Regions from separate parts of the Homo sapiens genome. Here regions 1, 2, 3, 4 and 6 are each linked to region 5. Evidence: promoter capture Hi-C in 16 types of primary human blood cells and fetal thymus (Javierre and others, 2016). All regions are on one chromosome and are shown on one strand. The core of a region is centred on a gene start or on the middle of the fragment in contact, and the rest is flanking DNA. Distances in the headings are between cores, read along the strand shown.

What was found. Contacts are between HindIII fragments. The CHiCAGO score rates a contact against its expected background, and 5 or more counts as called.
Region 1: a contact is called between a fragment that was not itself captured here and the fragment with the promoter of SNX14 in region 5, in 1 of 17 cell types (fetal thymus). The highest score is 7.3, in fetal thymus.
Region 2: a contact is called between a fragment that was not itself captured here and the fragment with the promoter of SNX14 in region 5, in 4 of 17 cell types (total CD8 T cells, total B cells, total CD4 T cells and 1 more). The highest score is 8.0, in total CD8 T cells.
Region 3: a fragment that was not itself captured here is called in contact with the fragment with the promoter of SNX14 in region 5 in 1 of 17 cell types (non-activated CD4 T cells); the score reaches 5.3 in non-activated CD4 T cells.
Region 4: a contact is called between a fragment that was not itself captured here and the fragment with the promoter of SNX14 in region 5, in 10 of 17 cell types (naive B cells, total CD4 T cells, activated CD4 T cells and 7 more). The highest score is 17.0, in naive B cells.
Region 6: a fragment that was not itself captured here is called in contact with the fragment with the promoter of SNX14 in region 5 in 1 of 17 cell types (total CD4 T cells); the score reaches 6.5 in total CD4 T cells.

Annotation. Positions count from the first base shown.
Region 1 is chr6:79,953,367-79,958,362 of GRCh38, reverse strand. The region is part of intron 1 of LOC124901351 (a long non-coding RNA gene); the gene reads right to left. It also overlaps the pseudogene GAPDHP63. Among named protein-coding and RNA genes, the nearest start is that of ELOVL4, 8.3 kb to the right of the region's middle. The HindIII fragment of the contact is 263 bases long and covers 2,995-3,257 here.
Region 2 is chr6:79,059,906-79,064,719 of GRCh38, reverse strand. PHIP (PHIP subunit of CUL4-Ring ligase complex) reads left to right here. Exons shown (of 40, transcript NM_017934.7): 5 at 3,902-4,052; 6 at 4,144-4,242. The region is part of intron 1 of LOC124901346 (a long non-coding RNA gene); the gene reads right to left. Among named protein-coding and RNA genes, the nearest start is that of PHIP, 16 kb to the left of the region's middle. The HindIII fragment of the contact is 218 bases long and covers 2,037-2,254 here.
Region 3 is chr6:80,099,542-80,104,043 of GRCh38, reverse strand. No RefSeq gene overlaps it. Among named protein-coding and RNA genes, the nearest start is that of BCKDHB, 4.9 kb to the left of the region's middle. The HindIII fragment of the contact is 3,199 bases long and covers 102-3,300 here.
Region 4 is chr6:79,080,695-79,085,530 of GRCh38, reverse strand. No RefSeq gene overlaps it. Among named protein-coding and RNA genes, the nearest start is that of PHIP, 4.9 kb to the right of the region's middle. The HindIII fragment of the contact is 1,520 bases long and covers 2,341-3,860 here.
Region 5 is chr6:85,590,344-85,595,421 of GRCh38, reverse strand. It overlaps SNX14 (sorting nexin 14), which reads left to right and starts at 1,564. Exons shown (of 29, transcript NM_153816.6): 1 at 1,564-1,843. The coding sequence starts at 1,704. RefSeq lists enhancers at 1,272-1,391, 1,702-1,871, 1,320-1,903, 1,904-2,487, 2,488-3,073 and a silencer at 1,422-1,641. The HindIII fragment of the contact is 2,215 bases long and covers 87-2,301 here.
Region 6 is chr6:90,592,345-90,596,816 of GRCh38, reverse strand. No RefSeq gene overlaps it. Among named protein-coding and RNA genes, the nearest start is that of MAP3K7, 7.5 kb to the right of the region's middle. The HindIII fragment of the contact is 3,979 bases long and covers 1-3,716 here.

The sequences.
Region 1 (4,996 bases), core at 1,877-4,376, 5.6 Mb after region 5:
GAGATTTTGGGCTGAGACAATGGGGTTTTCTAGATATACAATCATGTCATCTGCAAACAGGTACACTTTGACTTCCTCTTTTCCTAATTGAATACCCTTTATTTCTTTCTCCTGCCTGATTGCCCTGGCCATAACTTCCAACACTATGTTGAATAGGAGTGGTGAGAGAGGACATCCCTGTCTTGTGCCAGTTTTCAAAGAGAATGCATCCAGTTTTTGACCATTCAGTATGACATTGGCTGTGGGTTTGTCATAAATAGCTCCTATTATTTTGAGATATGTCCCATCAACATTTTTAAAGAAAATAATTTTCAACCCAGAATTTCATATCCAGCCAAACTAAGCTTCATACGTGAAGGAGGAATAAAATCCTTTACAGACAAACAAATGCTGAGAGATTTTGTCACCACCAGGCCTGCCCTAAAAGAGCTCCAGAAGGAAACACTAAACATAGAAAGGAACAACCGGTACCAGCCACTGCAAAAACATGCCAAGTTGTAAAGAACATCAAGGCTAGGAAGAAACTGCATCAACTAACAAGCAAAATAACCAGCTAACATCATAATGACAGGATCAAATTCACACATAACAATATTAACCTTAAATGTAAATGGGCTAAATACTCCACTTAAAAGACACAGACTGGCAAATTGGATAAAGAGTCAAGACCCATCAGTGTGCTGTATTCAGGAAACCCATCTCACGTGCAGAGACACACATAGGCTCAAAATAAAGGGATGGAGGAAGATCTACCAAGGAAATGGAAAACAAAAAAGGCAGGGGTTGCAATCCTAGTCTCTGATAAAACAGACTTTAAACCAACAAAGATCAAAAGAGACAAAGAAGGTCATTACATAATGGTAAAGGGATCAATTCAAAAAGAAGAGCTAACTATCCTAAATATATATGTACCCAATACAGGAGCACCCAGATTCATAAAGCAAGTCCTTAGAGACCTAGAAAGAGACTTAGACTCCCACACAATAATAATGGGAGACTTTAACACCCCACTATCAACATTAGACAGATCAATGAGACAGAAAGTTAACAAGGATATCCAGGACCTGAACTCAGCTCTGCACCAAGTGGACCTAATAGACATCTATGGAACTCTCCACCCCAAATCAACAGAATATACATTCTTCTCAGCACCACATCACACTTATTCCAAAATTGACCACATAGTTGGAAGTAAAGCGCTCCTCAGCAAATGTAAAAGAACAGAAATTATAACAAACTGTCTCTCAGACCACAGTGCAATCAAACTAGAAATCAGCATTAAGAAACTCACTCAAAACTACGCAACTACATGGAAACTGAACAACCTGCTCCTGAATGACTACTGGGTACATAACAAAATGAAGGCAGAAATAAAGATGTTCTTTGAAACCAATGAGAACAAAGACACAACATACCAGAATCTCTGGGACACATTTAAAGCAGTGTGGAGAGGGAAATTTATAGCACTAAATGCCCACAAAAGACAGCAGGAAAGATCTAAAATTAACACCCTAACATCACAATTAAAAGAACTAGAGAAGCAAGAGCAAACACATTCAAAAGCTAGCAGAAGGCAAGAAATAACTAAGATCAGAGCAGAACTGAAGGAGATAGAGACACAAAAACCCTTCAAAAAATCAATGAATCCAGGAGCTGGTTTTTTGAAAAGATCAACAAAATTGATAGACTGCTAGCAAGACTAATAAAGAAGAAATGAGAGAAGAATCAAATAGATGCAATAAAAAATGATAAAGGGGATATCACCACCAATCCCACAGAAATACAAACTACCATCAGAGAATACTATAAACACCTCTATGCAAATAAACTAGAAAATCTAGAAGAAATGGATAAATTCCTCGACATATACACTCTCCCAAGGCTAAACCAGGAGGAAGTTGAATCTCTGAATAGACCAATAACAGGAGCTGAAATTGAGGCAATAATTTATAGCTTACCAACCAAAAAAAGTCCAGGATCAGATGGATTCACAGCCAAATTCTACCAGAGGTACAAGGAGGAGCTGTTACCATTCCTTCTGAAACTATTCCAATCAATAGAAAAAGAGGGAATCCTTCGTAACTCATTTTATGAGGCCAGCATCATCCTGATACCAAAGCCTGGCAGAGACACAACAAAAAAAGAGAATTTTAGACCAATATCCCTGATGAACATCGACGCAAAAATCCTCAATAAAATACTGGCAAACCGAATCCAGCAGCACATCAAAAAGCTTATGCACCATGATCAAGTGGGCTTCATCCCTGGGATGCAAGGCTGGTTCAACATACGCATGTCAATAAACGTAATCCAATATATAAACAGAACCAAAGACAAAAACCACATGATTATCTCAATAGATGCAGAAAAGGCCTTTGACAAAACTCAACAGCCCTTCATGCTAAAAACTCTCAATAAATTAGTTTGGATACTTTCTGTTGCTGTTGTTGAGACAGGGCCTCACTAGGTGCCCAGGCTGATCTCAAACTTCCAGCCTCAATTGATCCTCCTGCCTCTGCCTCCCAAAACGTTGGGATTACAGGTGTGAACAACTGTGCTTGACCTTAAAATTTTTTATAGATATTTCATTGTTATTGATTTCCCATTTAATCCCCTTGTGGTCAAGTTCTATATTATTTCCTATTTGAAATTTATTAAGAGTTATTTAACAGCCCATAAAATTATAGATCTTTGTGATTGTTTCATGCCCATGAATTTGGCCTCCACCAGGTCAAATGATTTACAGTGTAATACATCTCTTCTATATTATAATTTATCTTTGCCTATTTATTATATTAATTATATAATAGGGGTATTAAATTCTATAACAATAATCTTGAATTTGTCTAATTTTTTTCTTAGTCTGTCAAATATTGCTTTATGTATCTTAAAGGTCTGTTATTACGTGCTTACCTTTTACTGGCTCTTTTATCTCTACTAACTTTGGTCTGTCCACATCCTGACATCCTTTAAGGAAGTGAAAAATAAAAAGCTTCTATTTTGCTTTAGGCACTTTTCTTTTGGGTTTTTCTGTAATATGTAATCATATCTAATGCTAAATGATACAAATACTATGACAAAAAAGTACAAGACACCGTGAACATGTGTGTAACGGGGATCTAACCTTGTTATTGGAGTCAGAGTTTTCCTAGGTCATACATTTAAGGTAAAGTGGGTATTAGCTCTAGTCAGAGGTTGTGAAAGAGTATTCCAAGAGGGAGAAAGTTATGTGCAAAAGCCCTGAGTCAAGGGAAGCTTGGCTCTTTGGAGAAACAGAAGGAGGTCCTGATTAGCTTCCCTGTATACTAAAAGCAGAAGTGGTAAAGGAATGATAGGCATTCTAGATCACACTTTCATTAGGCAAGAAGAAAGATTTACAATGTTCTAAGCTTCTAGATGTGGAGGCTTTGGAGCTTCCTGAGAGTACTAGAAATATTAAGAGATTTTAAGATGAGAAATGCCATCATCTGACATGCAATTTTAAAAGATACTCAAAGTACTGTGTGAGAATAAATTGTAGGAGGAAATAAATGGATGCAGAGAGATCAGTTAAGGGGTGATTGAGGCCAGGCACAGTTACTCACGCCTATAATCCCAGCACTTTGGGAGGCCAAGGCAGGCGAATTACGAAGTCAAGAGTTCGAGACCAGCCTGACCAACATGGTGAAACCCCATCTCTACTAAAAATACAAAAATTAGCCGGGCATGGTGGTGAGTGCCTGTAATCCCAGCTACTCAAGAGGCTGAGACAGGAGAATCACTTGAACCTGGGAGGCGGAGGTCGCAGTGAGCCAAGATCATGCCACTGCACTCCAGTCTGGGTGACAGAGCAAGACTGTCTCAAAAAAAAAAAAAAAAAAATGAGGTGATTGAAGTTTGAAGTGTTTAAGGTGGGAGAGAAATGATGGAATTTTCGGTTAAATTATATGCAGTAGAGCTGAGGGAAGTGGAAAAAATCAAGATATATTTTGCAAGCAGAATTAATAGGAGGTGGTCATGAATTGGATGTGTGTTGGAAGGGAGAATATTATAAAATGTCATTGATCACTTTTGGCATGTGTGGAAATAGGGAAATATGAAAGAAGAACAGATTGTGGGAGGGGGGGAGATAGGTTTTTAACATGTTGATTTTCAAGATGCCTGAGTTACATTAAAGAGAACCACACAAGCTATGAGATACATGAGCTGGAAAGAAGATCTAGGTTGAACACATATATCTGAGAGTTATGAATGCAGATGGTAACCAACGCTATGAGAGTGCATGAAATAATTTAGGCAGGGCTCTCTGCTCCTCCTGTTTGACAGACAGCTGCATCTTCTCTTGCATTGCCAACCACATCCCTGAGACACCATGGGGAAAGTGAAGGTTGGAGTCAATGGATTTGGTTGTATTGGGCGCCTGGTCATCAGGGCTGCTTGTAATTCTGGTAAAGTAGATATTATCGCCATCAATGACCCATTCATTGACCTCAGCTACATGGTCTACATGTTCCAGTATGATCCCACCCATGGTAAATTCCATGGCACCGTCAAGGCTGAGAACGGGAAGCTTGTCATCAATGGAAATCCCATCACTATCTTCCAGGAGCCAGATCCCTCCAAAATCAAGTGGGGTGATGCTGGCACTGAGTATGTCATGGAGTCCACTGGCATCTTCACCACCATGGAGAATGCTGGGGCTCACTTGCAGTGGGGAGCCAAAAGGGTCATCATCTCTGCCCCCTCTGCTGATCCCCCCATGTTCACGATGGGTGTGAACCATGAGAAGTATGACAACAGCCTCAAGATCATCAGCAATGCCACCTGAACCACCAACTGCCTAGCGCCCCTGGCCAAAGTCATCACTGACAACTTTGGTATCGTGGAAGGACTCATGACCACAGTCCACGCCATCACTGCCACCCAGAAGACTGTGAATGGCCCCTCCAGGAAACTGTGGCGTGACAGCCACAGGGCTCTCCAGAACATCATCCCTGCCACTACTGGGCTGCCAAGG
Region 2 (4,814 bases), core at 896-3,395, 6.5 Mb after region 5:
AATGGCTATATAGAGGAGTATAAGCCTAAAAGAAAAATGAGAAGGAATGGTTGGAGAGGAAGAAAGCAAGCCAAGGAGTGTCACAAAAGTTAAGAGAAGATAGTTTGCAAATGAGGAAGTGTTCAACAGTTAGGTGAAATATTATGGGACATTAAATAAGGTATAGATTTAAAAATGCTTATTGGAGTTATTGATAATTGAAGGTGAACTTTTGATAAGAGCTATTTTTTGTAAAGTCATGAGTGTGGGAGCTAGTGTGGAGTAGATTGAGGAGAGGATGGGATACGAAATTAGATGGACTATGGACCATTCTTTTAAAAACATGTTTCCGGAGAGGAAGAGAACGGGAAAGGGGTAGCCAGGATATTTGGGTGGGGAGGTGTTGGATAATAGCAGTTAGGCAGGATTTTTGTTTTTTCCTAAAGTGGATGCAAAATGAGCATGTTTACATGTAGATGGGAAGGAGTTGGTTGAGAGGAAGTTAGTGTACATACTAGAATGTGGAGGTCTAATTTATAGTGTAGGATTTCCGTGCAGTCAGAGAAGTTAGGATTCAAAGCATAAGTAGAGGGATTGGATCTTAAATATTTATTAAGAGGGACAGTTGTGTTAATAAGAGACAGAATTGGTACAGGTGTAGATAGGTTTACAGATTTGATAGGGAAGAAACAAAGCTTCAGCTTTAAAAAAGGTTCTCCTGTAAAGTAGGTTAGGTCATCTGCTGAGAAAATGAGGGGTGGGGAAGAGGATTCTTGGGAAAGAGAGGATAATAGCATTGTTTGTTAGTCTGTTTCCACTGTTCTTTCCAGAGACCCTTTCATGGTGGTACCTCAGGGACTGCTAAGAGGAAGCAAGTAGAGAGTCAAGCATTGAGATATGTGTTCCCTGATGCCACTTAAGTAAGATACTTTCTGAGTACCTTTACTTTAATCTGTTTTGTCTAAAATTTGTTTGAAGACATGTTCTAAGGCTTTCTTTAAAAAGTGTTTTAAAACTGTTAGAATTGGCCGGACGCTGTGGCTCATGCCTGTAATCCCAGCACTTGGGAGGCCTAGGGGGCGAATTACTTGAGGTCAGAAGTTCGAGACCAGCCTGGTCAACATGGCAAAACCCCGTCTCTACTAAAAATACAAAAATTAGCCAGGTTAGGTGGTGGGGCGCCTGTAATTCCAGCTACTCGGGAGGCGAGGCAGGAGAATCACTTGAACCTGGGAGGCGGAGGTTGCAGTGAGCCGAGATCCCGCCATTGTACTCCGTCCTGGGTGACAGAGGGAGACTCCGTCTCAAAACAAACAAACTCACCCCAAAACTATTAGAATAAAGAATTATACCATGTAAAAAAATTTTACTGCATCTATTTTTATGTGCTGGGATAGGTGCTAACAAAATGTTTTGGGTTTTTTGAGAGTGGGGAAGTCAGTCGTTTCTGCATATTCTTAAATCTTCATATATCCAACTAGAACTTTATTAAGCACTTAACTATAAGTACTGCATTAGGTATTGGGTAGACAGAGGTAAACATGGCCCAATCTCTCCTTATGCAGGACACAGACAAGTAAACTGGCAATTTTAGTATAGTGCATGAGTCTTATGAACCCCCAAAACAGGGCACATAATGGTAGGGCTTGTGTATTTTTGCAGGGAAGAAGATCGTAGCTGTCATTAGATTCTTAAAAGTCTAAGTATCAAAATATATTAAGAACAATTAATATGGTAAGTACTACACAGTGCTAGAGGGATGAAGGGACATTCGAGGAGTATAATGTGCTGTGGGAACACAAAGTGTCCAAAAAGGGGCACAGGTGGTGTAAATAGGTCATGGAAGGCAGTGAGTGAGACATAGACTGAGACATGAAGGAGAATGAGGTGTAGAGGTGAGCAGGTAAGACAAGATTGCCAGCAGAGGCATCAGCTTGTATAAAGTCTCAAAAGCCAGAGAAAGCACAAGGAATTTAAGAACTGGAAGTATCTCTTCTAACTTTAAAATGAAAGTTGATTTTGAAAAATTCAAACATTCTAAATCACCAAAGAAAGCTTGAGTCAGAGTGGATTCATAATATTTTATTGAAAGATAGAATATTACAGTAAGGATTTTCAGTTTCACTACCTGAAAATATATTTTGCCAGAGGATACTAAAACAGGATCATCACACATCTGAAGTTAATAAGTAATGAACTTCCATCTTCTTTAAAGTAAAATTTTTAAAAGGAATTTTGATCAATTAAGTCACATTAAAATAATCATTTGCAAGCTTAGAACTGGAAGCAACCTTACAAGTATTCTAGACTTCTAAATTTTATTTTTGAGTAAATTATTTTGGGGAAGATTAAAGAAAAGTATACGATTTTAAAAACTCATTTTGGTAAGTTTTCTTTTAAATGCTTTTTAATTTAGCTAATCATACTAGTGTTTCCTAAAGTATGTTCTGAGTGAATATGATAGATATTATTAGGGAAAAAAGGGATTCTGTAGCTAAATGAGTTTGGGAAATAATCTCAGGATTTTTCAGAGACTTCAATGTCAGTGTGCTTTTTGACTGCAAAACAAGGAGGTAATATGTATAATTCATATGATACAAACTGTATTAGAACTCCTTTTTCCAAAAATACTCATTTTACTGGCTTATCACCTACTGTATGCCAAACTGCTGTTTTAAATAATCTTACCAAAGATTATTTGGTGGCAGTATGGCTCCATGTTATCTTTGTGAAAGAAGGAGTGTATTTTGATAAAGAGTAAGGTAGGTTTCTCCTATTGGCTTCAGTTTAGATGGGTATTAGCTACCTTTAAAAACATATCATTCATGGATTTCTGCAGTTAAGAGTATAGCAGATATTGCAAGATGGAATGAGATGATTTAAATCCTCACCTCCCCCCACATCAGTCTTATCAAAAGGAATTCATGTTAAAGTTGCCATTACTTGGTAAACTTGAGGAACAATTTTCAAATTTCTTGGTCTTAGGACCCCTTTACACTTACTAAAATGTATTGAAGTTCCTTTATTTGTGTAGCTTATAATCTATTGGTATTTACCATATTAGAAACTTAGCATTTAACATATTGGAGACCTATTAAATAATACTAATAAACTAATCTTATTTTAATATAAGTAACATTTTTATAATAATTATTCCCAAACAAAACAAATTTGTGAGAAGCGTGGCATTGTTTTACATTTCTGTGAATCTTTAATATCTGGCTTAATAGAGGAGACATTTTCCTATCTGCTTCTGCATTCAGTCTGTTAAGACATCACATGTTATGTGTCCTGTGGAAACCTCCACCGTGCATTCATGAGAAAAAGTGAAAAACAACTAATATAGTGTTATTCATAAGTTTTATCTGAGGGACCTCCAGGGGTTCCCAAAACATACTTTGAGAATAGCTGAACTAGATACTACTGTGGAAATTTTTTTCTAACTTGATAGCTAATTATGAAGTAATACAATAGTATTTTTTTCCAATATAATTTTATTTAGATAGTGAATATTGTTTATTTACTGAAAGACTAATAAAAATATTAGCATTTCATGTCATGGTTTCAAATGCCGGTATAAATTAAGCAGTATTTTGAAGTTGTTCCAAAAGTGCTCAAACTTTTTATAGTGGGTAGCTTTATTTTATGATTGAAAGATATTTAAAGCAGCAGTTGGAATTTTGCCTTTCTCTCTGTAAGGTTTTTGGTAAATTATGAAATTCAGCATAGATGTTAAGTGTTCTTAAATTTTTTAATAACAAACTATCAGTTCTTAATTCTTAATTATTCTGGAGATTTACTTTACATCAAAGACGCAAAACAAAATATTTTATACTTGGATGAATTTTTTTATTGTTGCTCAAAGATTTTGAAAATTAAAATGATAAACTGAAACCTACTATATTTGTCTTTTACATAATAGGTGAAGTATTACAGACACTTAGCACCTGATCACTTGCTGCAAATATGTCATCGACTAGGACCTCTTCTTGAACAAGAAATTCCTCAAAGTGTTCCTGGAGTACAAACTTTATTAGGAGCTGGAAGACAGTCTTTACTACGCACAAATAAAAGTATGAAAATTTTCTCATAGGATTTAGACATTATTTATCTCACTTTTGTTTTTGTGTTCTTTGTATGCATAAAAATACATGTGTTTAATAGGCTGCAAGCATGTTGTGTGGAAAGGATCTGCTCTGGCTGCGTTGCACTGTGGAAGACCACCTGAGTCACCAGTTAACTATGGTAGCCCACCCAGCATTGGTGAGTTGTTTGAGTTCACTAGTAGTTAATAGCCTCTTGGTAAAGAGCTTTTGAAAATGAAAAGGTTTTTTAGTTACTGTGGTATTAGAGAACTTCATATTATGTACATCTGCATTCAAAAAGAAAAAAATAGATTTTTTTTCTTAGTAGTAGTTTTAATAGTGAAAAAGTCATGTATAATGAGGGATTGTGCACATTGCACCTTATGTAGGCCAATTAGCTCATTGGAATTTTATTTTTACGAAAGTTCCATATTAAGGTATATATTATTAGGTCGAGTTAGTAGAATCAATATATAATTCAGATTAGTTATAATGGTAGGAGACAAAAGTAGTTATCTTTTTAAGAGCACAGTACTTTTTTTTTTTTTTCTTTTTTTGGCTAAAGTTTCAAAGAGGGAGTACTGATGCAAGTATGTCTTCTTGAGATGCCTCCTAGGTTCATGCCTTTCACATCTGCTACTACCAGGCCCTTGCCTTACCCGGATTAATACAGCATCATCCAAACTAATCTTCTTGCCTATGGTGTCTTCTATCTCTCTCTCCCTCCCAGTATAGTGTGTAACACTGTAA
Region 3 (4,502 bases), core at 452-2,951, 5.5 Mb after region 5:
CTTGATAGCAGAGACAATAATTTGAGAGAAAAGTTTGAATTCTACAGACTGGTTTCTGAGTATTAAACCTCAAAAACCTGAATGAGTTAGGAAACAAAGCTTAGGGCTAAAAGAAAAGATTGTAAATCACATACCAGTATAAGAGATGGTTTGTCTCACCTTCCATGGAGGTACAGCTATAGATTAGAAAGACCTGTAGGTATCCTCCTTTGTAGATGAACCTAGAAAAGTATCACTAAATCCTCAGGCTACCCAGCATGTCATGGCATTTGAAACAGCAGGATGCTTCTCCCATGTGGCCAAGAGAGATGCAGCTATGGCAACAAGATCCAGGGAACTTGAGGAGACCCAGCAATCAGAATGATAAGGACTTGTGTCTAGAATATACTGATTGAAAGTCTTAAACGCAACAATAGAAAAGAAAAATTACCCAATTAGAAAATGGGCAAAGAATTCTCATTCATTGATTGTGGCAATGCAAAATGGTATAGCCACTTTGCAACACAGTTTAGTTTTTTATAAAACTAACATATTCTCACCATGAAATCCAGCAGTAGTGCTGCTTGGTATTTGCCCAAATAAGCTAAAAATGTATGTCCACATTAAAACCTGTGCAGAATATTTACAGCAGCTTTATTCATAATTGCCCAAACTTGGAAGCAACCAAATAAACTTAATGGAATATTATTCAGCACTAAAAAGAAATATTAAGCTGGGTGTGGTGGCTCATGCCTGTAATCCCAGCACTTTGGGAGGCCGAGGCGGGCGGATCACCTGAGGTCAGGAATTTGAGACTAGCCTGGTCAACATGGTGAAACCCCGTCTCTACTAAAAATACAAAAATTAGCTGGGCGTGGTGGTGTGCACCTGTAGTCCCAGCTATTCAGGAGGCTGAGGCAGGAGAATCGCTTGAACCCAGAAGGCAGAGGTTGCAGTGGGCCCAGATCACGCAACTGTGCTCCAGCCTGGGCAACAGAGTGAGACTCTCAAAAAAAAGAAAAAAAAGAAAAAAAAATATTTAACCATCAGAAGACATGGAAGAAGTTTAAATTTATATGACTAAGTGAAAGAAGCCAATCTAAAAAGGCTACATACTATATGAATCCATCTATATGACATTCTGGAAAAGGCAAAATTATGGAGAGAATAAAAGAGATGAGGGGTTGCAAGGGTTGGGAGCAGGAAGGGATAAATGGAAAATCACAGAGGATTCTTAGGGTAGGAAAAATATTCTGTATGATATTATAATGGTGGACATATAAATATGTCATTATACATTCGTCCAAATGCATAGAACGTACACCACCAAGAGTGAACCCTAATGTAAACTATGGGCTTTGGTTGACAACTGTGTGTTAATGTAGGTTCCTTGATGGTGACAAATGTGCCACTGCAGTGCAAATGTTGATGATTAAGGAAGCTCTGTATTTGGGGAAAGCATATGGACATTCTCTGTACCCTCCTCTCAAATTTTTTGTGAACCTAACACTGCTCTAAAAAACATAGCCTATTTAAAGAAATGGACAAAGGATTTGAATGACATTTCTCCAAAGAAGATATGCAAGTGGCCAATGAACATAAGAAAAGATTCTCAACATCAATAGTCATTAAAGAAATACAAATCAAAACCACAATGAGATACCACTTCATATCCACTAGGATGATTAAAATAAAAAGAAATCTATAACATGTGTTGGTGAGGCTGTATAGCAACTGGAACCATTGTGCATCACTGGTGGGACTGTAAAATGATGCAGCTGCTATGGAAAACAGTTCCGCAAAATGTTAAACACAGTTATCTTTTTAATTTTGTTCTTCTATTTCTCTTCCTTTTTTGTTTTTTTAAACATAATTATCTTATGACCCAGCAATTCCACTCCTAAGTATATAACAAAGAAAAATGAAAAGGTGTATTCACCAAAGCTAGTACACAAATATTCGTAGCTGCACTATTCATAATAGCAAAAAAGTGGAAACAATCCAAATACCCATGAAATGATGAATGGTTAAACAAAACTGATATATCTGTAAATAGAATATTATCTGTCAATAAAGAGTAATTAAGTAGTGTTACATGGATGAACTTTGAAAACATTACGCTAAGTGAAAGAAGCCAGTTTAAAATACTATATATTATACAATTACATTTATAAAAAGTCCAGAATAGACAAATCAACAGAGACAGGAGGTAGGGAATGACTGCTAATGGATATAAAGTTTGTTTATTTATTTATTTATTTATTTATTTATTTATTTATTTTGAGACGGAGTCTCGCTCTGTCGCCCAGGCTGGAGTGCAGTGGCGGGATCTCGGCTCACTGCAAGCTCCGCCTCCCGGGTTCACGCCATTCTCCTGCCTCAGCCTCCCAAGTAGCTGGGACTACAGGCGCCCGCCACTACGCCCGGCTAATTTTTTGTATTTTTAGTAGAGACGGGGTTTCACCGTTTTAGCCGGGATGGTCTCGATCTCCTGACCTCGTGATCCGCCCGCCTCCGCCTCCCAAAGTGCTGGGATTACAGGCGTGAGCCACCGCGCCCGGCCTAAAGTTTATTTTTTGAGTGATGAAAATGTTCTAAAATTAAGTAATGTTGATGGTTGCACAACTTTGCTCTATGCTAAAAACCAGTGAATTGTACATTAAAAGGATGAATTTCATGATATGTAAATTATATATCAGTAGCACTATTATTTAAAAATTAAATTACAGAAAAATAAAGTTATATTTGCCCATCTAAATATGTTGATGAAGAGATTCATTCCCCCTACAGCATGTTTAACATCCAGTGTATTAGTTCACAGACTCTGTTCATATGAAATCGGTTTCAACTAAGGACTCGGGATAATGGAAAAGCTCCCTGATTTTCCTTACTTCACTGAATTACTAAGTGGAATGATCCTGTTGGAATCAAAAGAAAGTCCAGAATATACTCAAAGCCAATGTATTTGTTTCCTAGGGATGCTGTCACAAAGCAGCACAAACTGGTTGCAGGAACGTATTGTCTGCGATTCTGATCAAGTCCAAGATCAAGGTGTCAGTGGGACCATGCGCCCTCTGAAACCTGTAGGAAAATTCTTCTTTTCCCTTTTGTTGGTTCTCTGGAATTCTTTGTCATCCCTTGGCTTGCAGTTGCATAAATCCAGTATGTGCGTTTGTTACCACATGCCGTCTCCATATCTTTGCACAGCTATCGTTTTATAAGGACACCAGTCATATTGGATTAGAAGCCCACACTGCTCCAATCTAACCTCATCTTAACTTAATCAATTACATCTGCCATGACCCTATTTCCAAATAAGCTTAAATTCTGAGGGCCAGGGGTTAGGTACTGGGTTTGGGGGTAGGGGAGTGTCAAGCTCAACATATCTTTCAGGGGACAGGGGCATAACAGTCAGAGACTTGGTTGCAGGAACAGAAGCTAACTGGATGAATGCTTTTGATAAACTATGGATGCTTTTGATAAACTATTAGGAGGATGTTTACATGGTTAAAGAGTTTTTATAAAGTGTTTTGTGGATTTCTTCAAATATGACCTAAAGTCATTTGGAGAAGGGTTAAAAATCTAGAGATATTTGGTCTAGATAAGATTTTAAAAGTGATGTATTAACTCTCCCTCAAAGTTTGATGGGCTCCCTTGTAGAGGGGTTAAATTTACTATTTAGCTCCGGAGGGAAGAATAAGAAACAGGAAGAAGCAAATTCTAGTGTAATATAAAGAGCTTCTTATTAAGTAGACTGTCATGGGAAGTAATGAATTCTCTATTACTGAAATAGTCAAGCACGAAATGGATGAACACTATTGAGGGAGCCTCTTGGGAGGATTTATGCTTCATTTACAGGTGGTTTAGCGTACTTCTAATTTTAAGAATTCTGATTCTACTATTCACTAGTGTGTACTGAGAGCCTTGCATGTGCCAGAGACAGTGTTTCAATCAACATTATTTTAAGCCAACCCCTGGTCTAAGCCAGCTGTCCCATCCAGCATGTGAGTTATTCCTTCTTCCCCTTCCTCGGCATCTTGGCAACTTCTCTCTGGCTTCTTATCTCCTGCAGGGGCTTGAGATGCACTGTGATCAGTCTTCCAAGCACTTTGAACCATGCTATGTAGACAGAAGCCGTGTAAGCCAGTCACTGAAGAAAGGGCATCAAAAAGTGACATTATTGGAAGTTTGGGCTCAGCCCAGGGGAAGGATTTAGATACAATCAATGGCTCAGAAAACGGCTACAAATGTTAATATCTGCCTGTATGTATAACAGTGTTTTAGAGAGAGCTACTCATCTGTAAAAATACATACCAGCCCGGCAGTAGTGATTTTTTAAAACTTCCCCAGGTAATTTATGAGTACTGCTAGGTTTCTCAAAGCTTAATTAAAACTATGGCTTACATAATTGTGAATATTGGGACAAAAGAAATTTGAGACCCATATCTTACCTTACCTCCATCACAAACTTTATTGGGAACACCAGGTGGTGACCAGTGTGGAAAAAGAGAGAAGAGCAAAGG
Region 4 (4,836 bases), core at 1,851-4,350, 6.5 Mb after region 5:
AAATATGTTAGGAAAAGAAAAACTAAACTTTTAATGAATGACAACATGTTTGTAACCTAAAAAAGCTAAAAGGAAAAAATCTGCACACTAAAAAATTTTTTGGAGTAAATGCAACTTGTGACTCTAGTTTGTAAGTTTCAATCTACTTGTGGCTAGAGGACTTGATTGAAACCTCTCTATGGTTAATAATATTGTATAAATAAAAATAATCTGTTATAAATTAACTGTTAATTTTAAAATATGAAAATAATACCCTCACTCAAAAAGTGTTTTGAAAAAAAATTCAAGAGTCTATCACACTCAAGTGATTACTTCACAAAGTTTTAGCATGTTGTTTTGCAGATGCTAAAAATAACTTGGTAGACTTTATTCCGGCTAGCATTGTAAAATATATACATTTTGTACTAAAAGCAATTAGGTTAAGATACAGAAACATAGTCTATATGAAATACTCATTGTTTCAAAAATGTGAATTCTTTGCAGTTAAATTTGAATGGTATATATAGCCATTGATTCATATCTCTTGCAATCCATTCAATAAATTGAGTTATTGCTGTTAAACAAAGTCAGATTTTAATAACTGAAAATTTCTGGAGACTAGCCAGATTATGCAACCTTTGTTTTCCAGATGTTGTGGTTAGAGGGGTCACTGCTGCTTCAGATTATCAGCCTCTAGTAAGCTGGGCATCTCCATGTGTTGAAACAAAGTACATAATGAGGGTCAAACTGCAAGTGTTTAAATGATGGTTCTTCAGCTGACACACAGAGAGAAAGGAATAACGCTGCAATGAGAATACTATAGTAGTAGGAATGACATATAAGGGCCAAGGACAGATGTTAGAGGTTGACTTTGGGTTTTTATGTCATCTTAAATAATTTTGCCCAGGAAAAAAAAAACACAGCTTCACAGCAATGCAGAACACCAGAACTTGTGACAGAAGTTCTTATTTTTTTCATCTTTTTTAACATTAAAAAAATTTCTATTAAAATATTATGAGTAGTAAAAAGGGAAAAGATCATAAAATAATAACAGGAAAAAAGTTGGGTGATTAACAGAGGAAATTACCTTTGTAATTACTATTCTAATAGAAGAATGCCTGTTAATAGGCTTTAGGGGAAAGTATCTTCACTATCGTGCCACGGAAATTTGCCATTGTGTGTTCAACACAAACTGATCTAAATTTTTTTAAGGTATAATACGATCTGGATCTAAAAATGAAAATGAAACAAGTTATCTAAATATCTCAAAGAAGTGAAGTTAAGCAATATTAACCATAGAGAGGTTTAAGTTTATGTAAGTCCTGAAAACTTTATGGAGTGTGAAAAATGCAAAAACTTTTTTTAAAATTTAGTAATTCCTCTAACTCAGTAAAATCTAACATCTGAAGAGGGCCACATTTACCTGGACTTCGGTAAAAATGTTGAAATAAGAAAAATTTGGCAACACAAAAATGCAAATACATACTGCACAAACAGCAAACGTTTGCCACTTAGCACTTCATTTCTTTCCTTATGGAAAAACAGAGGAAAGAAAGCAGGAAGAGGGAAGCAGGGAAGCAAGGCAGGAAGAAAGGAAGGAAGACAGGGAGGCAGGCTACATGTTTTTTCCTCCTTTTGACACCAATTCTTTAAATTGTTTTAGTCTTTTGTATAATAACCAGGAAACCTGAAAATAAGAGATGTTGAAGATTTTAATGTGTGACAGTCCCAATTATAAGAGGAAAGAATAGATTCATATTTATATTTTTAGAGTTCTTAGAATATATCCAAACTGAAAATATAACATGGGAATTGTTTCTCCAAATAATTACATATCTTATTTTCCGTATTTTACCTTTGGAAACTAACATTTCACTGATGGAAAAGAAGGAAACTTTTACAGAGACACAGAAAAAACTGAAAATGCCGGAATATCAGGGAAAGATGGAATTCTTACACAAGTACTTGCCAAAAAACCCAAAACACTGAATGACAAAAACAAGTGTAAAGTGTAACATGTACAAACTATAATAAGACAAAAAGACAATATACTTCTTCCTTCTCACATGATGCTACTTACCCAACATTTTTAAGAAAGATTTTCTCTAATGATGTCTTAGAGGCATTACTTCTGATACCTGTTAAGGGGAAATACCACATATATTCTTACCACAATATTCCATCTAAAGGCTATCATAGTTTGTCTATAAATCATTATCAGTTGGTAAATTTTGATGAGCATTTAAAAATCCACTCCAGCCATTTCGTCTGCACCTGTATTTTTAGGCACTCAAGTGTAAACATGAAAACTGTTAGTGTAACAAGATTTGTAGGTGTAATCTTAAAATCAAATTATAAGCTTTTCTTAAATTTTAGCACACACATCTTGGTTGAAAGATCTACCTGGTATCAATATTGTTTTAAATTTTTAACTATGATATAACTAATTTTTTTGTAATAGCTAGTCATTGTTTCAATAAACATGTATGAGAATATCTGTGAAAGAGAATAAAGCAACAGAGGCATAAGTCAGGGGGACCTTCGCAAGTACACACACATCCCCATATATGAAGAAAAACAAAAATAATATACAAATTAGATTGTATAATTAGGTCTCTTATAGGAATTCAGAAAATAGAGTATTTTTGGTTACAGTTAAATCTAAGTTGCTTTATTCTTAATTTTGAATTAGAACTTATATATGAGTCTCAAGTCAGACTTGTGAGTGCTCTGAATGTTCAGTCCTTATTCTTTCAAACACCTGTTCTTCTTTGTCATCAGTAGTGTCTACTTTGGTGTCCTTGATATCCATTATTTTTACTCTGTATAGATTCCTCACTATTTGTCAGATAAAACTTTCCCTTCCTTTTCTATAACTAAAATGCTTTTTCTTTGGGGTTCCTGAAGTTTATGGCTTTAGGCACATATAAAGGCAAGTGACTATGTAACTGTTTTTCTCAAATGCCATCTTAACATCGCATAGATAATAGTGTACTACCAGAGCCTCTGCACCCATTTTCTCCTCCCCTCCCCCACTTTACCTTCTCTTCTTTCACTGTTCTCTGTTCAACTCAGCCCACTCCCAGTCCATCAGACATCTTCCTATGATAGAACATGCCTACAGACTTCTCCTTTATGTTTCCTGCCATCTGGAACAGCTTTTTCTGCTTCATCCACTGTGTTGCTCCAAATCTTAGGGGAATATGTTCTAAAATTGTTTTTCTCCTTTAATCTTTGTAATTGTACTGTTAAAACTCATGAAGTGATCATTTAAAACAAACTATATAAATAAACCCATGAAGATGTGTATTTCTTGTGCAAATTAAGACTTATAAAAATACAAACTACTAGAATTATTTAACTTGGATAAAAAAGATTGAGTGAATTACTAACATTTAAATACATAAGGGATAACATGATTGTTGAGGACTAGCTATATTTGTTACACATTAAAAGGAAACGTGCTCTAATTTAAGTAAAAAGATTCCTCAGTGAGATATAAGGGAGAACTGTTAATGTTAAATAACAAAAACATTGTTAAATAATGGAATGGCTCACTTAAGTTGGTTATCTCTATTCTTTTTGGAGCAGCCAAATAGTATATCTGTTCATGTGCTTCAAATCTGATAAATATTCATGCTCTATGAAGAAGGATATGTGTGTGTGTGTGTGTGTGTGTGTAAGAGAGAGAGAAAGTCAGATAAGCATGGACAGAAACACACAATATTGGGGAGCAAGCCACAGTGAGGAGTGTGGCTTGTTAAATAAGATCCTTGACAGTTGTATTGTGTTCTTGGGGCAGATGAGTAGTTTTTTTTAAAGTACTTTTGAGAGAACAGTGTTTTCTACTTTTACATTTCTGTATTTCACAGGATAAAGCTTCTGCTATAGAAGAAATGTAACATCAAAACAAAAGCAAGATTTAACATGAAATTTTAAAAGTTGTACTTATAGAGATTTTTTGAGTTACGTATTATTCACCATACTACTGGAGATTAAATTTCATAAATGTATAATTTTTGTACTTATAAATACCATCCCATCTTGTTCCTGAAACAACTGAAATGATAGTATTTGATTATTTTATTGGAATAATAGCTTACAAGATCAAGACAAAATTTTTGTTAAATATTTATTTTGTTTCATGTGTTGCCACGTGAAAAGTGATGAATTTCACATAAACTTTTATATTTCAAGAAAAGTTTCTATATCTCCTAGAGAGACTATATTATGTAAAAACGTTAGGTCTTGGCTTTCCAAACTTTTACTATTATTTGTTAACCTTGTTATTTAAACTGCATGGAGATCTTTTTAAAGTGATATTTTATTTTTGGAAACCCATAAAAATGTTAAAATAAACAAACAGGAAAGGATATAGATGGAATCTGAACTATCCTTATATGCAAAAGAGTTGGCTGAACAAAAAATTGCAAGGATCATTGCTTTGGGAACTAAAATCTAGAACTTCCAAATAAGACTTTTCTTTCTATTTGATATTTACAGACTTTGTACATAAACAAGTACAATAAACAACTTAATAAATCTTACAGTTAACTGTCAATGCTATAATTCACAAATGTTTTTTATGTTTAAGAAAATTAAAAGGGCTATTTGGAGTATTTGTTACATTTAAAGGACTTAGTAAAATTCAATTCAATATCCACTGTTAAATACAAATAGTTTATTTGGCTGAAGGGAAGTTTTAATTTTTAGCAGGTAATGTATATTTTCTTATAACAGACAATAGTTCAAAGGGAAGGTTACAACAATCTGCATATTGGACATTTGAAAAAGAAATATAAACACTGTCAAAAATCAATCAAAATGACAGGAACATCATGTTTAGAAAACTTAGAG
Region 5 (5,078 bases), core at 315-2,814:
TAACAGATAAAGATACTTAAAAACTGCCAAAGTGAAATTAATAAATGTTTAAATATGTACCTAGAAATATTAAAAAATGGTAAGCTTTCCAATGATGTTACACTGTAGTCTTTTAAATGGTTTAGTCACAAACAGAAAAGTGTATTTGTGATGTTTAGACAATAATAGCTAATCGTGAGGATCAGTGAAATTGTTTACTTTTATACACCACTGTGGAGTTGGTACCACCATTCTACAAAGCAGTTTGACTGTATCAAGAATGTTTGTTTTTACCCTTTGACCCAGTAATTGTATTAAAGTTGATTCTAAATAATTAGAAATGTGCATAGGTTTATCATCAAGGATGGTAATATCAATGGACTTTAGTGGTTAGCAATAATGGAACAGGATGGTACATTCTGATAAAGGATAATAATGCATCATTAAAGATCCATGTTTTTGTAATACGGGAAAATATTCATGAAACTACATACATCATTAAAAAACATTTGTTTCCCCACTTTGAAGGATAAGATCCTAGGAAAGAGAGATGACAGGCACAGGCTCTGTCTTTAGAACGTGTTCAAATTCCGGCTTTGTTAGTTTTATGATCCTAAGTTCCTTTCTGTCTCAGTAATTTGCCTGTATAATGATTGAAACTATAGTACTGTACCTACACCATGGGGTGAATGCATGAAGGTCAAATGAAAGTGCTTAGTGTCTGTACCGCCTAAGTAAATTTTCGCGATAATAGTCTTCCTGCATCTCTCACTGTAGCGGACAATACAGAAAAAAAAATTTAGAAATGTGATGAATTAGTAAAGGGAAAACCCCATGAGACTCTATAAGAGGGATTTTACCTAATCTGCCAACCTGCCTCTTCCAAGCACTCGGATTTTGGTTGGGCTCCCGGAGCCGGCGTGAATTGAGCTCTACCCTTGCCCGTGAGCGCGCAAAAGAGATTTTGTTGGTGGGGTGGCGGCCTGATGAGTTGTAGTCTTTATTCTAGGGCTGTTTTACTCGCCACCCCCCCAGCCCCCAACACACCCCTTTTAAAATACCGACTCAAAGGCGTCCTCCTATCCCCCTCTCCCTTAGGCGTCACGCAAAGCTCGGACCTGCTCCCACCCGGAGCCGAGTGTACGGTGAGGCGCGGAGCGTTGCGGGGTCGGGGAAGCGCTACCACCCGCTCCATCCCTCTGCGGGTTCGTGTCACGAAGACTACAGTTCCCAGCGGGCTCCACGAGCTCCGGTTGCCCCTCAGGCAGCGCCCGGCGGCTACGGGGGTGCTGTAGTTTCTTCCGGGCTCCCTACAACCTTCTTCCCTCTCCTCCGCAATACAGGCAGTTACTGGGTGCTGGGGCTGTCCTTTGATTTCCGGAAATGGCCGGTCGCCAGTGTTGTCAGAGTTTCCACGGAAGACTGCGCGCTACTCCGGCCAGGAGGGCGGAGCGGCGAGACGCTAGAGGCTTTGCGCTGGGTGACGACTTCGGGCACGTTCTACGGCCGTTCCTCTGGTCGGCTGGGGACCGCGGCCGCGCACGCGCGGCGGGGGGCGTGGGGCTGGGCCCAGCCGGACGCGACCTCAGCCTGCGGCGGCTAACTGCCGGTAGGCGTCTGTGTGCGCCGCCAAGTCGGTGGGGCGGGGACGCGAGGTGTGGATGGGGGGTCGCCTTGACCTCTGCCTCAGCCAGTAGCGCAGTCTCGGCCTCGCCGTTACGGAGATGGTGCCCTGGGTGCGGACGATGGGGCAGAAGCTGAAGCAGCGGCTGCGACTGGACGTGGGACGCGAGATCTGCCGCCAGTACCCGCTGTTCTGCTTCCTGCTGCTCTGTCTCAGCGCCGCCTCCCTGCTTCTTAACAGGTAACGCCGCAGCGCGGAGCCTGGGCGGCGGCTTTTCTCCGAAGGTGCAGACGCCCGGCCCGTGCTGCTTAACCGTGCGGAGGCCGCGTAGCTGCGGGACTGGGGACCAGTGGGGAGAGCGAGCTCCGCAGAGGAGCGGCCTCGGGGAGCACGGCGGAGCGTCGAGGCCGGAAGCACAGGCCGGTGGGGTGGGGTTGATTGCCTCCTTTCCCGAGGCTTCGTCTCCTGAGCTACCTTTTTCTCATCCATTTCTCAAAACGAGTTCTTCATCTTCGTTGCTTTTCAAAAGTGAAATCCGTGTGTCGGCTCAAATTGAGACTGTACACAGGCAGTCAAGTCAGCTGACGGAGGAGTGTTCAAGGTCCAGTTCGTAGCCGCAATTTTAGGCAGAATCCGCACACCTGCAGCGCGTTCTTCCATCTCCCCACCTCCCACCCCCTCAGCTTGCAGCTGAAGCTTTTCCCGCAGTATTGTTGAATAAAACAGACGATCATAAAGATTTGTTGGACAGAAATCAGAAAGCAAAGTGGTACCCGTCCCAACATCCTTAGAATTTTTTATTTTTGAGACGGAGTCTCGCTCTGTCACCCAGGCTGGAGTGCAGTGGTGCGGTCTCGGCTCACCGCAAGCTCCTCCTCCCGGGTTCACGCCATTCTCCTGCCTCAGCCTCCCGAGTAGCTGGGGCTACAGGCGCCCGCCACCACGCCACCACGCTACCACGCTAATTTTTTTGTATTTTTTTTTTTTTTTTTTAGTAGAGACGGGGTTTCACCGTTTTAGCCAGGATGGTCTCGATCTCCTGACCTCGTGAGCCGCCTGCCTCGGCCTCCCGAAGTGCTGGGATTACAGGCGTGAGCCACCGCACCCGGCCACATCCCTATAATATTCTTAAGAGGACTTGATGCCACCCTCCCCAAAAAAACCTGAAATATTCCGAAAGGTTAAAATTGATAAATTCAATTGACATTTTGAAATCAGAAGATTCTGCCCCCGAAATAAACTTGTTTTACTTCATTTTACTATTTCAAGAAATTGTTGCGATGCAATAGGTAGTAGAGGAGACTTTTCCATTAAAATTAACACCAGATTTGCTTTTGGTGGAAAGAAATCTGAGATAGTTCTCATTGACAGCATCCGCAAGCTGTTTTCTCTGATGTTTTGAACAGGCAACCATTCTTACTCTTTATCTTAAGGTAGTTGATTCCCAAGGATAGCAACAGGGAGGAATGCGCAAGGAATTTGGTAACTTCATTTTTCTCTGGTGTAACCATTATTTGTGACTATGTTGAAGTTAGATTTCTTCCCTAAAAGTGGCCTTGCTTTCTTGTTGATTCTTGGTTTAAATATTATTGAGCTTAAATAGTAGTTGATGTTTTACTGAGAAGTGTGCTCTGTGATGGTGAGATGTTTGAACTGTAGGAGTGTGGGAGAAGTGGGATCCTTAACAGAGGGAACACTAATTATTATTTGCTTTCTGTCATCTGGAAGGTATTCCAAGCTAGACTAACAGGTTTAGTATGAAAGAAATGTAAGCTTCATATGATTTTTATTTTTATTTTTATTTTTGAGACGGAGTCTCACTCTCTTGCCCAGGCTGGAGTGCAGTGATGCGGTCTCGGCTCACTGCAACAGCCACCTTCCAGGTTCAAGTGATTCTCATGCCTCAGCCTGCAGAATAGCTGGGACTACAGGTGGGCACCACCATGCCCGGCTACTTTTTTTACATTTTTAATAGAGACGGGGGTTTCACCATGTTGGCCAGGCTGGTCTCGAACTCCTGATCTCAAGTGATCCACCTACCTCAGCCTCCCAAAGTGCTGGGATTACAGGCGTGAGCGACTGCACGCAGCCCATATGATTAACTTTTGTCCATGGATTCTTACCTACCTCTTTTGGGAACTGGGTCAGTTTAGGTTTCTAAGGTAGGAGAGCCATCTAGTAGGAGCAGGTTAAACTAGATTTCTGAGGTCATCTACTTATGGTCATAACATTTAGTGTTGTGTGTTATTAAAAAGTCATAGGATGCCATCTGATCTGTATACCATCTAACCTGTACCCTGTATTTCTTTTATGCAGAGAAGGTAGGAAATACAGGTAAATGTTACCTGAGTGGTTGGGTTTATGAGTGAAGCTGTTTTTGCATATGTTTTGGTGTTTTCCATTTGTTACTGCTGTAGTCAGCAAAAGTGATTTTAAACACTAGAACTGTCTTGAATAAAACCATGATTATGTATCCCTTTTCCAGGAAAAATCTTTTGGAAGGTGCCAGATGGTGTATGTAGCATGCTTTTCAGTGTATATGTGTGATTAAAAAAAAAAAAACTTATGTGTGTATTCACGTACACACACACACACACAGATGATAAGAGTATCTCTGAAATGTTGTTATACAAGAAAACATGGGCCCTTCTGAGATGGGGTATACTAGGTACATCTATTCTGAAATAAAAAATAATTTTATATGAAGTTGATCCTTGAACAGTGCAGAGATTAGGGCCACTGACCCCTATGAAGTCAGAAATCCGAGTGGAATACCATGGGATCCATACAAAGTACCACTAATGATACTGGGAGTACTCCCAAGAAGCAGAGAAAAGTAATGACATTACAGAAAAAGTGAAATGCTTGGTATGTACTATGGATTGAGGTTTGCAGCTGTGATTGCCTGCCATTTCAAGATAAATAAATTGAGTGTAAGGACCATTGTGAAAAAAGAAAAGGAAATTCATGAAGCTGTTGCTGCAGCTATGCCAGCAGGTGTGAAAACTTCGTACTTTTTGCAAAGTACCTTTTCATGTTTTATTGAAAATTTAGCTTTTATGTGGGGGCAGAATTGCTATGAGAAAGGCATACATATAAACTAATGCTATTCAAAAACAAGTGAAGTCATTGTATAACAGCTTAAAGCAGAAGGAAGGAGAAGGATCTAAAACTGGGTAATTTAATGCCAGCAAAGGATAGTTTGATAATTTTAGGAAGAGATCTGGCTTAAAAAATGTCAAGAGAACCGGAGAAAAAGCCTCTGCTGACCAACAGGCAGAAGATGAGTTCCCAAACACCATTCAGAAAATCATTGAGGAGAAAGTATTAAATATATCTTCCTGAGTGGGTGTTTTTTTGTAAAAGCAAGTTTATTAAGAAAGCAAAAGAATAAAAGAATGGCTACACCATAGGCAGAGCAGCCCTGAACAAGCTTTTAATGCTGATGAAAGTGACCTGTTTTGGAAAAAATGTC
Region 6 (4,472 bases), core at 478-2,977, 5.0 Mb before region 5:
AGAATTTTCAAAACCCTCAAATACTCGAGAAATCTTCATTACAAATAGTTGGTATGCCAATTATATATCAATTTATTTATTAAATCTTCCCCCAGTTATAGAAAACATTTGGTTAACCCAATCCTTACACCTGAAATAAAGTAAACAGCATTTATTTAGAAATGTAGATACTCATTTACTTTCTAAAAAGTTATTAAGTGTCTACTAAACACTTACAATTCTCACCCCAGTTCAGCTAACATCCAATGGGCAGGGTCTGGTAAGGGGTAGGAGGACAGAAAATAAACAAGAGAGAAAATAATTAAAAAGATGATGTTGATAGGTAAAGGGCTAGAAATAAAACTTAGTAATAGATAGAAGTGAAGGGAGAGGGAGCCAAAGGGAGGACCATATCACTATCTCTGAGGTGCTGTTTGAGCTGAGACCTACCTGATAAGGTACAGACATCTGTGGAAAATTTAGGAAATAGCAAATCCAAGCTGGGAACATCTTACCTATAAATCACGAGTAGTACACAGGAACAGAAATCTAGCACTTACAAAAGCAGACATTCTCCTAACATCTGTGGGGCTCAGGGTAAGAGTACAAATGGAGGCTCACATATTATATGCCTAAATATTTATAAGCAGTAAATCAAGGTAAACTGGTAAATAAAATATATTCCATCCTCCTACCTTGACAATATTCCCTTTCACTAGAATGTAGTGGTATAAGCAAAGCTAGCCTCCAACTCCTGATTTATACCCCTGTCCTCCTACTCTGGGCTCAATCTACACTGCAAGGGGCCTTTACACACCCACATGTGGGCTCCCAAGCCTGCCCATCTGAGCCCATTCACACACACATACGCATACACAGATACACTTTGGCTAGCCCTCCGGAGGACAGACCCAGAGGAGAAACTTGTACACGTAGCTTTGGGGCTGTCTGGGGGCTATTTCAGGGGCTTGAGTACCTAGAGCTCTCATCCCATGACAAACATGGTATAAAAGGAGATTTTAAAGTGTGTGGCTCAGAGCAGAGACCCCTCTTACTGGGGCTAGTGGAAAGAGTATACATAAAAAAATCACCAGCACACTTTTTTCCCCTCAACAAATCTCCCCAATCCAGCCTCTCTTTTCTTTCCAATTTTGTACCAGTTAGCAACTAAGCTATGATGGGACAATAGTCTCCTATTATCTGTGATGGAGAACTGTTTTGCCCATTATCACCACACCAAGAAGGAAAAAAGGAAAACTAACAATTACTTCATATTTAATTTCTATGAACCAGTCACTTTTAATCTGCACCAAAACCTTTGATGTAGGTATTAGATAAACTAAAGTTGAAATTTTAAGTAATTTATTCAAGATATGTGGCAGAATCAAGATAAGAACTCTATCAGAATTCTAAAACCTGTGCTTTGAAGATAAAGCACAGAAATCCTAACTACAATTAGTTTACCACCCCTCTCTAAAGCATAAGCAAACTTGAAGCATTTTAAGATTACCAAAGAAATAGAATAGCTTTTGCATGAAGATACCCTAAAAACACTAAATTTAAATAATGTTCACGGATGTTCATCTCAGTGATATTTAAAGGGGGGAGGGGGGAGTGTTAAAAACAACCTCAATGTCCAACAGCAGACAGTTAGATGAATGACTCACAGACATCCTGACGTCTCAGTTCCTGCCCTTCTCAGTTCCCTCCTTTTCTCCCAATCGTATCTCAGATTGAATGTTGCCCTTACCTGAAACTGCACCACCTTTGAAATCACAAATTCAAAAGTCTCACTCTCTAAACACAACCCCAGATCCACCCAGTTTGCCCAGGAAACGTTCACCACACCTGTTCTTCAATCACATGGCAAACCTCCACCCTAGTGACCCTTCTACCTTCTCCCAAACTATCATACCCTCCCATCATCTCTTTATCCTCTCTTCAGGTTAGCTCCCATGGCCCATCATTCAGCTATACTCTTGCCAAAGCCCTAAACTCCCTCGCCGCAATGTGGGTTTAATTTATACTGTTCTGTATTTTGCCTTCCCTTAACAATCAAATTTCTCAAAAAGTTGTCCACATTACTGTCCTCATTTCTCTCACCTCTCACTCAGTCCAACTCATCTAGTTTCTGTTCCCACCTTGGAAACTGCCCTAGTCAAGGTTATGGGTGACCTCTGAGTTCCTAGACCCAACAGACCCTTTTCAAGATTTTCTCATGTTTAACTTCTTTTTTTTTTTTTTTTTTTGTGGAGATGGAGTCTCACTCTGTTGCCCAGGCTGGAGTGCAGTGACGCGATCTCGGCTCACTGCAAGCTCCGCCTCCTGGGTTCCCGCCATTCTCCTGCCTCAGCCTCCCAAGTAGCTGGGACTACAGACGCCCGCCACCACGCCCAGCTAATTTTTTGTGTTTTTAGTAGAGACGGCGTTTCACCGTGTTAGCCAGGATGGTCTCGCTCTCCTGACCTCGTGATCTGCCCGTCTCGGCCTCCCAAAGTGCTGGGATTACAGGCGTGAGCCACCGCGCCCGGCCATGTTTAACTTCTTGTAAGTATTCAACACAAACATCCTTTTCATGTTGGTTTCTACAATATCATAGTTTTTTTAAATTATTTTCCACAACTTTCTTTGGTAGTTACTCCAGCTCTACCCACTCCTTAACCATTTTATTCCTTACAGCTCTTTCTTAAGTCCTAGTCTCACTTTACATATCTTTCAATTTCCATGAATTTAATTATTAATATCATCAGTAGATCAGCATCTGTTTCTCTAGCTTTGTCTTTTCCCGGAAGATCAGCTGCCTACTTGATCATAATACTCTCTGGAACCTCTAGCTCAACATGTTTAAAACTTATTTCTTCATTCTCCTCTTCCCTAACCTTGTTCCCGCTCTTCTTCTTGCCTCTTGCAAAAGGCACCCTTTCTACAATGAATTGCACAAATGAAAAATCTGGAAATCCTCCTCTATATTGCCCTTTCCTTTACCTCCTTCCCCACTTCCAGTGTCAGTCAATAACTCCCACCAATCACTAACTCTACCAATTCTATTTCCTCAATGCCTCCCATTTATCCGTTTATCTATAACCCCTATGGCCACTATCCATGTTGTTTAAACCACTATTATGTCTTGCCTTGAATACTGCAACAGCCTCCTAACTCGGTGCTTCCCAAACTTTTTCATGTCATGGCACACATAGAAAATGATATATTGGCCAGGCGTGGTGGGTCACGCTTCTAATCCCAGCACTCTGGGAGGCTGAGGGGGGCAGATGACCTGAGGTCAGGAGTTCGAGACCAGCCTGGCCAACATGGTGAAACCCTGTCTCTACTAAAAATACAAAAATTAGCCGGGTGTGGTGGCAGACACCTGTAATCCCAGCTAATCAGGAGGCTGAAGCAGGAGAATCGCTTAAACCCAGGAGGCAGAGGTGGCAGTGAGCCGAGATCATGCCACTGCACTCCAGCCTGGGTGACAGAACAAGACTCCGTCTCAAAAAAAAAAAAAAAAGAAAAAGAAAGAAAGAAAGAAAAAAAGATAATATTGTAAGATACTCTGGGATAAACTAGAAGGGATTGAAGTCATCTATTCAGGGCTTAATTTTAAAAACCATCTTTTTTTTTACATTATATAATTTTGAAAAATGAAATACAATGTATTAGAGACAATGTTAAACACTAAATTTGTATAAAACACCAAATAGACTCTTTGAAATTTTAGTAAGAATTTTTAATAAGCTTTCCTTCATGAATATAATTTTTAACATAAATTATTATATTTGAAATGACTACCATCAATTCCTGATCCAGACTTTTTAAGGATGATCTCTTCAAATTCTTGATAGTCATCATCAAAGAAAAACTTTCTTCATAAAAGTAAATGAAAAAAGCATTTTTATAACCATTCTAAAATTTACAACAGTTCAAATTAAACAGCTCTCCTTTAGTTGTCAAATATAATGTTCAAATGTCTTGTGGTAATATAAGCAAATTTTGAGATAAGTTGTACTTTCTTATATCAAGTGTTTAGAAAATAATGGACATTTTTATTGGCAGAACACACAGACATCATCAAAACAGTCACCTATAACTAGCTTGGATGGGGATGGGGTTAAAGGAGAGAATGTTACCTGCAAACAGAAATGTCAGCTAACTGTGATGTCAGAGAATGTCTTGGAGCTGCACCTGCCAGAAGCCTCTACTCCACCTTTGCAATGCTCACCCTTAAAAGCTACATTGTGGGTAACTGGAACACCAACGCTTCCTGCAGCTCCATGAGTTGGCTAAGTTCCAGCTTAGTTTCTCCTGGGATGCCAGAGACCTAGGATGAAGATATGGAGGGTAGAAAATATAGAACAAATGCATATATTAAAGAAATGCTGCTCTCTAGCCGTGTCACTAAAATGCTGAGGGACTGGCTATCCTCTGCATACTCCAGTTCTGAATACAGTGCAGCAGAATACTATTTCTGAACTTCCTGGAAAGAATAATATTTA